Linked DNA regions of Homo sapiens: all the other regions are linked to region 2. The links are contacts of gene promoters, found by promoter capture Hi-C in blood cells and fetal thymus (Javierre and others, 2016). All regions are on one chromosome and are shown on one strand. Each heading gives the region's core, a stretch centred on a gene start or on the middle of the fragment in contact. The rest is flanking DNA. Distances are from core to core; before and after follow the strand shown. Region 1 overlaps DCK (deoxycytidine kinase). Region 2 holds the start of CENPC (centromere protein C). Region 3 overlaps GRSF1 (G-rich RNA sequence binding factor 1). Region 4 has its middle 9.2 kb from the start of UTP3.

The links. The method cuts DNA at HindIII sites, captures the fragments that hold promoters and counts their contacts. A CHiCAGO score of 5 or more calls a contact.
Region 1: a fragment that was not itself captured here is called in contact with the fragment with the promoter of CENPC in region 2 in 1 of 17 cell types (naive CD8 T cells); the score reaches 6.1 in naive CD8 T cells.
Region 3: a fragment that was not itself captured here is called in contact with the fragment with the promoter of CENPC in region 2 in 2 of 17 cell types (non-activated CD4 T cells and naive CD8 T cells); the score reaches 9.8 in non-activated CD4 T cells.
Region 4: a fragment that was not itself captured here is called in contact with the fragment with the promoter of CENPC in region 2 in 1 of 17 cell types (non-activated CD4 T cells); the score reaches 5.1 in non-activated CD4 T cells.

The regions. Positions count from the first base shown.
Region 1 is chr4:70,999,022-71,001,721 of GRCh38, forward strand. The region is part of intron 2 of DCK (deoxycytidine kinase); the gene reads left to right. Among named protein-coding and RNA genes, the nearest start is that of DCK, 6.7 kb to the left of the region's middle. The HindIII fragment of the contact is 5,573 bases long and covers 1-2,700 here.
Region 2 is chr4:67,544,092-67,546,807 of GRCh38, forward strand. CENPC (centromere protein C) reads right to left here and starts at 1,412. Exons shown (of 19, transcript NM_001812.4): 1 at 1,247-1,412; 2 at 58-104. The coding sequence starts at 1,264. RefSeq lists enhancers at 1,167-1,406, 1,184-1,734 and a silencer at 1,557-1,696. The HindIII fragment of the contact is 5,245 bases long and covers 301-2,716 here.
Region 3 is chr4:70,834,509-70,837,208 of GRCh38, forward strand. It overlaps GRSF1 (G-rich RNA sequence binding factor 1), which reads right to left. Exons shown (of 10, transcript NM_002092.4): 2 at 1,650-1,806. Among named protein-coding and RNA genes, the nearest start is that of GRSF1, 4.0 kb to the right of the region's middle. The HindIII fragment of the contact is 4,947 bases long and covers 1-2,700 here.
Region 4 is chr4:70,696,400-70,699,099 of GRCh38, forward strand. No RefSeq gene overlaps it. Among named protein-coding and RNA genes, the nearest start is that of UTP3, 9.2 kb to the left of the region's middle. The HindIII fragment of the contact is 296 bases long and covers 1,240-1,535 here.

The DNA.
Region 1 (2,700 bases), core at 158-2,657, 3.5 Mb after region 2:
CTTTTTTTGTTGTTATCCTTTAAGTTCTGGGATACATGTGCAGAACGTGCAGGTTTGTTATGTAGATATACACATGCCATGGTGGTTTGCTGCACCCGTCAACCCGTCATCTACATTAGGTATTTCTCCTAATGCTAACCCTTCCCTTGCCTCCTACCCCACCGACAGGCCCTGGTGTGTGATGTTCCCCTCCCTGTGCCCATGTGTTCTCATTGTTCAACTCCCACTTACAAGTTAGAACATGCGGTGTTTGGTTTCCTGTTCCTGTGTTAGCTTGCTGAGATTGATGGTTTCCAGCTTCATCCATGTCCCTGCAAAGGTTATGAACTCATTCTTTTATTATGGCTGCATAGTATTCTTTGGTGTATATGTGCCACATTTTGTTTATCCAGTCTATCATTGATGGGCATTTGGGTTGGTTCCAAGTCTTTGCTATTGTGAATAGCGCTGGAGTAAACATACATATGCATGTGTCTTTATGGTAGAATAATTTATAATCCTTTGGGTATATACCCAGTAATGGGATGGCTGGGTCAAATGGTATTTCTGGTTCTAGATCCTTGAGGAATCGCCACACTATCTTCCACAGTGGTTGAACTAATTTACACTCCCACTAACAGTGTAAAAGCATTCCTATTTCTCCACATCCTCTCCAGCATCTGTTGTTTCCTGACTTTTTAATGATCACCATTCTAACTGGTGTGAGATGGTATCTCATTGTGGGTTTGGTTTGCATTTCTCTAATGACTGGTGATGATGAGCTTTTTTTCATGTTTGTTGGCTGCATAAATGTCTTCTTTTGAAAAGTGTCTGTTCATATCATTTGCCCACTTTCTGATTGGGTTGTTTGTTTTTTTTTCTTGTAAATTTGTTTAAGTTCCTTGTAGATTTTGGATATTAGCCCTTTGTCTGATGGGTAGATTGCAAAAATTTTCTCCCATTTTGTAGGTTGCCTGTTTACTTGGATGATAGTTTCTTTTACTGTGCAGAAGCTCCTTAGTTTAATTAGATCCCATTTGTCAGTTTTGGCTTTTGTTAACACTGCTTTTGGTGTTTTAGTCATGAAGTCTTTGCTCATGCCTATGTCCTGAATGGTATTGCCTATGTTTTCTTCAGAGTTTTTATGATTTTAGGTCTTATGTTTAAATCTTTAATCCATCTTGAATTAATTTTTGTATAAGGTGTAAGGAAGGGGTCCAGTTTCCGTTTTCTGCATATGGCTAGCCAGTTTTCCCAGCACCATTTATTAAATAGGGAATCCTTTCCCCATTGCTTGTTTTTGTCAGGTTTGTCAAAGATCAGATGGTTGTAGACGTGTGGTATTATTTCTGAGGGCTCTGTTCTGTTCCATTGGTCTATAGCTCTGTTTTGGTACAATACCATGCCGTTTTGGTTACTGTAGCCTTGTAGTATAGTTTGAAGTCAGGTAGCATGAGGCCTCAAGCCTTGTTCTTTTTGCTTAGGATTGTCTTGGCTATACGGGCTCTTTTTTGGTTCCATATGAAATTTAAGGTAGTTTTTTCTAATTCTGTGAAGAAAGTCAATGGTAGCTTGATGGGAATAGCATTGAATCTGTAAATTACTTTGGGCAGTATGGCCATTTTCACAATATTGATTTTTCCTATCTATGAGCATGGAATGTTTTACCATTTGTTTGTGTCCTCTCTTCTTTCCTTGAGCAGTGGTTTGTAGTTCTCCTTGAAGAGGTCCTTCACATCCGTTGTAAGTTGTATTCCTAGGTATTTTATTCTCTTTGTAGCAATTGTGAATGGGAATTCACTCATGATTTGGTTCTCTGTCTGTTAGTGGTGTATAGGAATGCTTGTGATTTTTGCCCATTGATTTTGTATCCTGAGACTTTACTGAAGTTGCTTGTCACCATAAGGGATTATGGGCTGAGATGATGGGGTTTTCTAAATATACAGTCATCATCTGCAAACAGAGATAATTTGACTTCCCCTCTTCCTATCTGAATCCCCTTTATTTCTTTCTCTTGCCTGATTGCCCTGGCCAGACCTTCCAATACTATGTTGAATAGGAGAGGTGAGAGAGGGCATCCTTATCCTGTGCCGATTTTTGAAGGGAATGGTATCGGCTGTGGGTTTGTCATAAATAGCTCTTATTTTGAGATACATTTCATCAATACCTAGTTTATTGAGAGTTTTTAGCATGAAGGGATGTTGAATTTTATTGAAGGCCTTTTTTGCATCTATTGAGATAATCATGCGGTTTTTGTCATTGGTTCTGTTTATGTGATAGATTATGTTTTATTGATTTGAGTATGTTGAACCAGCCCTGCATCCCAGGGATGAAGCCGACTTGATCGTGGTAGATGAGCTTTTTAATGTGCTACTGGATTCGGTTTGCCAGTATTTTATTGAGGATTTTCGCATCGATGTTCATCAGGGATATTGGCCTGACATTTTCTTTTTTTTGTTGTGTCTCTGCCAGGTTTTTGTATTAGGGTGATGCTGGCCTCAAAAAATGAGTTAGGGAGGAGTCCCTCTTTTTCTATTGTTTGGAAGTTTCAGAAGGAATAGTACCAGTTCCTCTTTCTACCTGTGGTAGAATTCAGCTGTGAATCCATCTGGTCCTGGGCTTTTTTTTGGTTGGTAGGATATTATTGCCTCAATTTCAGAACTTTTTATTGGTCTGTTCATTAAACCAGAGTTCTTCCTGGTTTAATCTTGGGAGGGCGTA
Region 2 (2,716 bases), core at 162-2,661:
AAAATCTATTAACGATGAGAATAAAAATAATCTTAAAAGCTTAAGTACGTAAATCACCTGGAAGGTCGACAAAATCTTCTTCTGTAGCCATTTTTGAGATGATCCTGAAAGAAAAGTAAATCATCAATTTGGTTTCTTTAAGATAGAGTCGAGTAAAATTTATTTTCAAAGTAACTTCATCCAGTATGGGCATGCTATACACCAAACATCTCCTAAGGGCTCAAAACAATTTTGAGGTTATGTTATGACATAACATAGGTTATGACAGGCATTTAAAAACTGAACTGCAGGCATCTGGTAAGCTTTATTCCGCTTCTCTCCCCACAGTGAGAATGGCTTTATTGCTTTCTTCTGATTATATATAATGTAAACAATATATGTGCTCATAGTAAAAAGTATAGATTATATTATTCTTTCATACAACTCTTTATGTTTATATGTATAACGTCACATAATGGGAGATCATCGAAGCTGAAGATTTTCTTAGAAGGGGAGATAAATTAGAAAAGAAATGATACGGATTTTTATATAGTAACCATAACCAAAGTATGAAATATAGAATAGTGAACACCAAAGAAGTCCAGAAATATGTAAACAAAATGAGTTGTCGCCCCCATTAGTCATTCACAGCTTGTACCTTTTAACTGATAGCTGTCTTTCAGAAGAGTTTGTCAATAACATATGCTCCATAAATCAGCCTCAAGAACTGCATAAAAGGCCACCATTTTGACAGAAGAACTGAAAACGTCAAATTATTTCGAGACGTACTTGTTACATAATCTGTTTCTCCCAACTACCAAGTGTGACGCAAAGACACACTTTTAAGGCGTTTCAATACTTCTACCATGGGGAGAAAAGTTATTTGGAGGCCTAGGAACTGGAGCTAGACTAAAAAGCAGAAGCCAAGATCGCGCCACTGCACTCCAGCCTGGGGGACAGAGCAAGACCCCGTCTCAAAAACAAAAACAAAAAAAAACCCAGCAGAAATCACAAGCACCTCTCAAGAGTAAGACGTAGGCACAGACGAAATGACGACATGAAAACTTAAGAAATAATAAAAGTACAGTAAATTAACTCTGGTTATCGACACACGATCACACTTGATTTCAAAAATTCCTGCGGCTTTCCCACTGAAATCCCTCAGAGATCACAGCCTCAGCCTAGCATTTCCTTCTCCCCAGCCTCGGGCGCCCGTGCCCCAGCCAGCCGCTCAACCACTCGCCTGGAGCGGGGGGCCTGCACTTACCAGACCGGACGCAGCCATGTTCCGGCCCCGCTGAGCCAGCGCAACTGTCTGAGGTGGAAGCCCACACGGACCACAGCTCCAGGAAGCCGAGCAAGAAACGAATCGCCGGAATACCAGGCCGCGGCCAAGCAATAACCTTAAGTCTCAGGCGACTGCCGCGAGAGCTGCGATCCGGAAGGCGCGCGCTAACAACACTCCCCCGCCATTGGCTCCGCCCTCAACAAACAAGAACGCTTGGCCTGTGCCTGGGTTTGAACCCGGAGACACATGCGCAAAACGGGCCGCGCCGTCCAATAGGAAGCAAGCCGTTAGTGGGCTCGCCCCTTCATGCTCCAGGCCAACGGCCCTCCAGCCTGCAGACCCACCCGCCCGCCCTACCTCTAGCCGCTCTGCTCTTCCCACCTCCCTTCCTCAGCGCCGCGCCCGGGACAGGCGCGAGACTGGGCTTTTATTAGGAAGGCACGATCCTGGGAACCGCTCCTTGTGCCCAATGTAAAACTTCTCAACAGTTCTATTAAGGAATAATAAGTAATACTTGGAAGGATGAGAGGTAGAAATTGCAGACGACTTTTTTTTTAATAGAATCTTTTTTTGAAGAGATTTTTCTAATGCAGATTCGTCAGCCACGCCCAGCCCATCTAACCATCATCTCTGAAAATAATTGAATAATTATGTATAATAATGGTGATGATGGCTTGTATTCTTTTTCAAGTATGTGGGCGATATTTTTATGATGCATTGCCAACAAATGACCCACGTAAATATCTATCATTTAAGTATGATGCACTGAAAAGAATTCTATACAGAATCCTGAAACCTGCCAGCCATTGACTAGCTATGTTATGGAGGGCAAAATTGCGGCACCATTCTGGGTGTTTCCATAGTGATAGAATGGAAGTCTAAATTAGACGCTCTGAAGACTTCTCACCTGACCAGTGTATGATTCTATGAAGCTGTATCTTATTTTATTATTTAATTTAAAATTACAAGAAAATTCTAATCAGAAAATAGTTTACTAATTGAATAAATACATTAATCAGGAGTTGAGCTAATAGATTTTTAAAACATGTAGTGCTTTAACAAATGCTGTCAACTATGAAGGCCAATTTTTTTATTTTATTTATTTTTTTGATAGAAAAAAAGGAACTATGATCTCTGACTGAAATTAGGCCTGGATTGCACTCCATTCCATTAATTCTGCCATTATGGGCAACTAAGTTATCTGTTCCTTAATTCTCTTGTCTGCAAAATGAGAATACTATTAAAGTGGTTGAGATGTTGTAATTGAATAATTCCTGTTAAGATCTAAGCACAATGTTTGGAACATAGTAAGAATTCAATAATAAAGCTATTGGAATCATTATGGAGAGTTTTTTACTATGTTTGGCAGTTTTGCCAATCAGTCCAACTTATAATTTGGTGCTGTCACATTTGGAATAGATAATGATAAACACTAACATTTATTGACTG
Region 3 (2,700 bases), core at 201-2,700, 3.3 Mb after region 2:
TTTCAACTTTTATTTAGTACATGTATAGGACTGCTACATAGGTAAACCATGTGTTATGGGAGTTCGGTATACAGATAATTTAGTTACCCAGGTAGCAAGCACAGTACCCAATAGGTTTTATTTTTCTTTTTGAGACAGAGTCTCTCTCTGTCACCACGGCTGGAGTACAGTGGTGTGAACTCAGCTCACTGCAACCTCCGCCTCCCAGATTCAAGCGATTCTCCTGCCTCAGCCTCCCAGGTAGCTGGGACTACGGGAGCGTGCCACCACGCCCGGCTAATTTTTTTTGTATTTTTAGGAGAGATGGGGTTTCAACATGTTAGCCAGGATGGTCTCGATCTCCTGACCTCGTGATCCGCCCGCCTCGGCCTCCCAAAGTGCTGGGATTACAGGCGTGAGCCACCGCACTTGGACCCGATAGGTATTTTTTAATCTTCTCCCCAACCCTCAAGTTGGCCCTGGTGTCTTCTTGTTCCCCTCTTTGTGTCCATGTGTTCTCATTGTTTAGCTCCCACTTGTAAGTGAAAACATACAGTATTAAGTTTAATGTTCCATGTTAGTTTGCTTAGGATAATGGTCTCCAGCACCACCCACATTGCTGCAAAGCACATAATCTCACTCTTTGTTATGGCTACGTAGTATTCCATCATACCAGCCGGGCACGGTGGCTCACGCCTGTAATCCCAGCACTGTGGGAAGCCGAGGCAGGCAGATCACAAGGTCAGGAGATTGAGATCATCCTGGCTAACACGGTGAAACCCCAGCTCTACTAAAAATACAAAAAATTAACTGGGTGTGGTGGCAGTCGCTACTAGGGAGGCTGAGGCAGGAGAATGGTGTGAACCCGGGAGGCGGAGCTTGCAGTGAGCTGAGATCATGCCACTGCACTCCAGCCTGGCGACAGAGCGAGACTCCGTCTCAAAAAAAAAAAAACCTACATAGTATGATGGATTTTTTTTTTTTTTTGAGACAGAGTCTCACTCTGTCGCCCAGGCTGGAATGCAGTGGCACCATCTCGGCTCACTGCAAGCTCCACCTCCCGGATTCACACCATTCTCCTGCCTCAGCCTCCCAAGTAGCTGGGACTACAAGCCTGGGTAATTTTTGTATTTTTAGTAGAGACGGGGTTTCACTATGTTAGCCAGGATGGTCTCGATCTCCTGAGCTTGTGATCCGCCCGCCTCGGCCTCCCAAAGTGCTGGGATTACAGGCGTGAGCCACTGCGCCTGGCCCATACTATGCAGTCTTAACGTTAAAATACTTTTGTTGCATTCAAAGTCTTTATACATATGTAAATTGAGACAGTCTCACAGTGTTGCCCAGTGTGGTATGGAACTACTGGCCTCAAGCCATCCTTCCACCTTGGCCTCCCAAACTGCTGATTACAGGCCTGAGCCACTGCCCCTGGCCCAAAGTCTTTCAATTCGTTACATACCGCAAACAGCACACATGGTATCATTTGGTATATGCAACCAACCAGAATGAGACAGTTCCCAACCATCAAAAAGGAAGGTGACAGCGTAGTCTGACATGGATTTGTAGCACTACCTTTTACTCAGACAAAATTACATACTTAAAACATACATACCTGCTTGTGAGAAACAATATAAGGAAAAAAAATAAATAAATAAAACATACATAAAATATACCTGAAAAAAAGTTAAGCACATCTTCCATAGTGCATGACCAGGGCAGTCCTTGAGCTCGAATGAGAAAGACATCATCCACTTCCTCTTCTAACTTGGACGGGGCCAATTCATACTCAGGGGGTGGTGGAAGGTCTTCCAGGTAAGTAGTTTTGGACTCCTTCCAAAGGAAATGAAGAATTGTAAAAAGAGTTGCATTTACAGGTAAAAAATGTAAAAAAATTCTTAGAAAATGTTTATTCTACAAACTAACATTCTAGATGTTATTTCAGAAGCAAAAAGTAAACTTCACCAATGTAACCCATCCTGTTTTGGCTTAAATTGTACATCCAAAAGCCATAAGCAGGTATATCCTAAAGGTTTGGCAGGACACAAATTTCATTCAGGGTTTGTTTTAAAATTCATCAACCCCAAATTATAGCTAACAATAGTGTAGTTAAGGCAACACAAGAAAGGTCCTGACAATTTGACAAATATTTGATTGCCCCTACACACAGTGTTTGCCGCCCTCATCTGAAATAGCTATCTAGAATACGATAAGCATACAAGATGAGATACTGAGTGCTATAATTAAGATACAAAATACTACAGGAATTCAAATCAGAGCACTAACAGATGAATCAGGATGTGACATGAGATGGGCCTTGAAGGAAGGATAGAATTTTTATGAGGATATAAAAGATAGGGTATTCCAGTTTGAAGGCGAGAGAAAGAAGCAGTACGACCAAATGCCCATTTGAATAACAGCAATTAATTCCAACTGTTTAAATTAGGAGCCAAAGAAGGTGACCTGGCAAAAGAGGTTGGTACCATAGAGCAGAGGGCCTTGAGTGTGGAGCTCAATGTGTGTCCTTCACTTGGTAGGCAAAGATAAGTTAATACAAGACACTGAGGACTGGGTAAATCAACAAGACAGCAGGACGCCTTGGGAATATTCCTCTGTCAGCTGGTATGCCAGACCAAGTGATTAAGGGAAAGATCTTAAAGACAACGGCAGCAGTGTGAGGCTACAGACTTGTAAAGTCTCTTTTATCGGATTAAGTAAAACTGGAAT
Region 4 (2,700 bases), core at 138-2,637, 3.2 Mb after region 2:
GGTGTGGTGGCTCACGCCTGTAATCCCAGCACTTTGGGAGGCCGAGGAGGGCAGATCACGAAATCAGGAGATCAAGACCATCCTGGCCAACATGGTGAAACCCCACCTCTACTAAAAATACAGAAATTAGCTGGGCGTGGTGGTGCACTCCTGTAATCTCAGCTACTCAGGAGGTTGAGGCAGGAGAATCACTTGAACCCGGGAGGCAGAGGTTGCAGTGAGCCGAGATCGTGCCACTGCACTCCAGCCTGGCGACAGAGTGAGACTCCATCTGAAAAAATAAGAAAACTTAATGCTAGAAGGGCTGTACCTTTTACCCTTGTGCATTGTTTTATATGGCCTGTTTTAATACATATAATAGACAATTTTGCCATGGTGGGGTGAGGATTATTCAAATTAAGTAGATGGCAGAATTTAATTAGCACCTAAAATTTTTTCACATTTATTAAATGACCTCTTTTAGACATACTTATATTTCTATTCACACCACACTTGAACATACATAAAAAGGGAAATATAAATGTAAGCTAAATAAGTTATTCCTTAAGCTTCTTATTCAGTCCAGTTTTTTTGAATTGCTTTTATTCGGATACCTGATGGTCACAGATAGAAAAAAAGAATTTTGATGTGATCTTAAGAGGAAAGGGTCTTAAAAATAAGTGAGGCTGGGCGTAGTAGCTCACGCCTGTAAACTCAGAATTTTAGGAGGCCAAGGTGGGCAAATCACTTGAGCACATGAGTTCGAGACCAGCTTGGGCAACAGGGTGAAACTCCATCTCTACTAAAAATACAAAAATTAGCTGGGCATGGTGGTGTGCGCCTGTGGTCCCAGCTAGTGGTGAGGCTGAGGTGGGAGGATCACTTGAGCCTGGGAGGTCAAGGCTGCAGTGAGCCATGATTGTGCCACTACCTGGGTGACAGTGAGGCCATGTCTCAAAAAAATAAAAAATAAGTGAGAGGGACTGATAACTACTTAGGAATAGTACAAGGAACAAATAGTACAAAAAATAAATCTTTTATGCATTGTAAAAAGAGGAAAAAACGATGCTAAATTTGGGAAGAGGCATAAATTCATTACAATTAAAACAATTAACTGCTTAAATAGGGTACTATGAGACCTCAAAAATGGCATGTACCTTTCTACATGGGGAGAGCAGAAAAAGTATCACAGCTTTGTTTGAGTAGAGTTTGGGAGAGGAAGAACGGGTACCGCAATATGAGTAATGGCAAACATGTTAAAGCTTAGTCAAAGGCAACAAGGGGTAAGACAAGATAGGAGGATAATATTGGAAAGATAGGAAGGGGTTAGATCATGAAAGACCTTACTAGGTAGTTAATGCATTTAGATTGTATCCCACACATAAAGAAGTGAACCCAGGTTTTTAAGAAATGTTGTGGCATAATTAGGTGAACGTTCAGAAAAGTAAATTACTCATTCTAGCTGCTGTAGAGCAGGGCAACTGGAATAGATTAAAACCAGAGGCAGGGAAACCAATGAGGAGTCCTTTGCAATAATAACTGGCAAGAAAAGATGAAGCTTTAACGCAGAGGACAGGCCGGGCACAGTAACTCACGCCTGTAATCCCAGCACTTTGGGAGGCCATGGCAGGTGGATCATTTGAGGTCAGGAGTTCAAGACCAGCCTGACCCGTATGATGAAACCCCATCTCCATTAAAAATACAAAAATTAGCCGGACATGGTGGTGCACGCCTGTAATCCCAGCTACTCTGGAGGCTGAGGCAGGAGAATTGCTTTAACCCAGAAGGTGGAGGTTGCAGTGAGCCGAGATCACACTACTGCACTCCAGCCTGGGCAACAAGAGCAAAGCTCTGTCTCAAAAAAAAAAAAAGAAGGAGAAGAAGAACCAGAAAGAGAGAGCATGAGAATTACTGGATACATTCATAGAAATCTTCAGCAACATCATTATTATCATTATTATTATTTTGAGATGAAGTCTCTCTCTGTCACCCAGGCTGGAGTGCAGTGGCGCGATCTTGGCTCACTGCAACCTTCGCCTCCCGGGTTCAAGTGATTCTCCTGCCTCAGCCTCCCGAGTATCTGGAACTACAGGCACACACCACCATGCGCGGCTAATTTTTTTTTTTGTATTTTTAGTAGAGACAGGGTTTCACCATGTTGGCCAGGCTCGTCTCAAACTCCTGACCTTGTGAACTGCCCACCTCGGCCTCCCAAAGTGCTGGGATTACAGGCCTGAGTCACCGCGCCCGGCCAGCAACATTATTAAGATAAACACTAGCTGGGCCTGCTGGCTCACACCTGTAATCTCAGCTACACTGGAGGCTGAATTGTCTCTGGAGTCTCTTTAGACCTGTGAAGCAATGTATTGTCAGTGATATAGAACTAGGAGAAGTCTTCTTTCTTCAGTTCTCTGATTCATAATACTAGAAATAATTGACCTTTAAGTATGACATTATTATAAACTAAATATTTCCATTTATGTCCAAGGACATTATTTTAATTAGAAATCTGATAGTAAGGATCATCTCAACTTTTGGCAAAGGAAATTGTATGTAGTAGGAACTTGAGTAGGGTTTCCATCAATGTTTAGGTTATTTGAATATTGTTCTTGAATATTGTTTTTGAATATCTGGACTAACTCTGGAGGCTGAGGTGGGAGGATTGCTTGAAGCCAGGAGTTCAACTGCAGCCTGGGCAACATAGTGAAACCCTCCATCTCT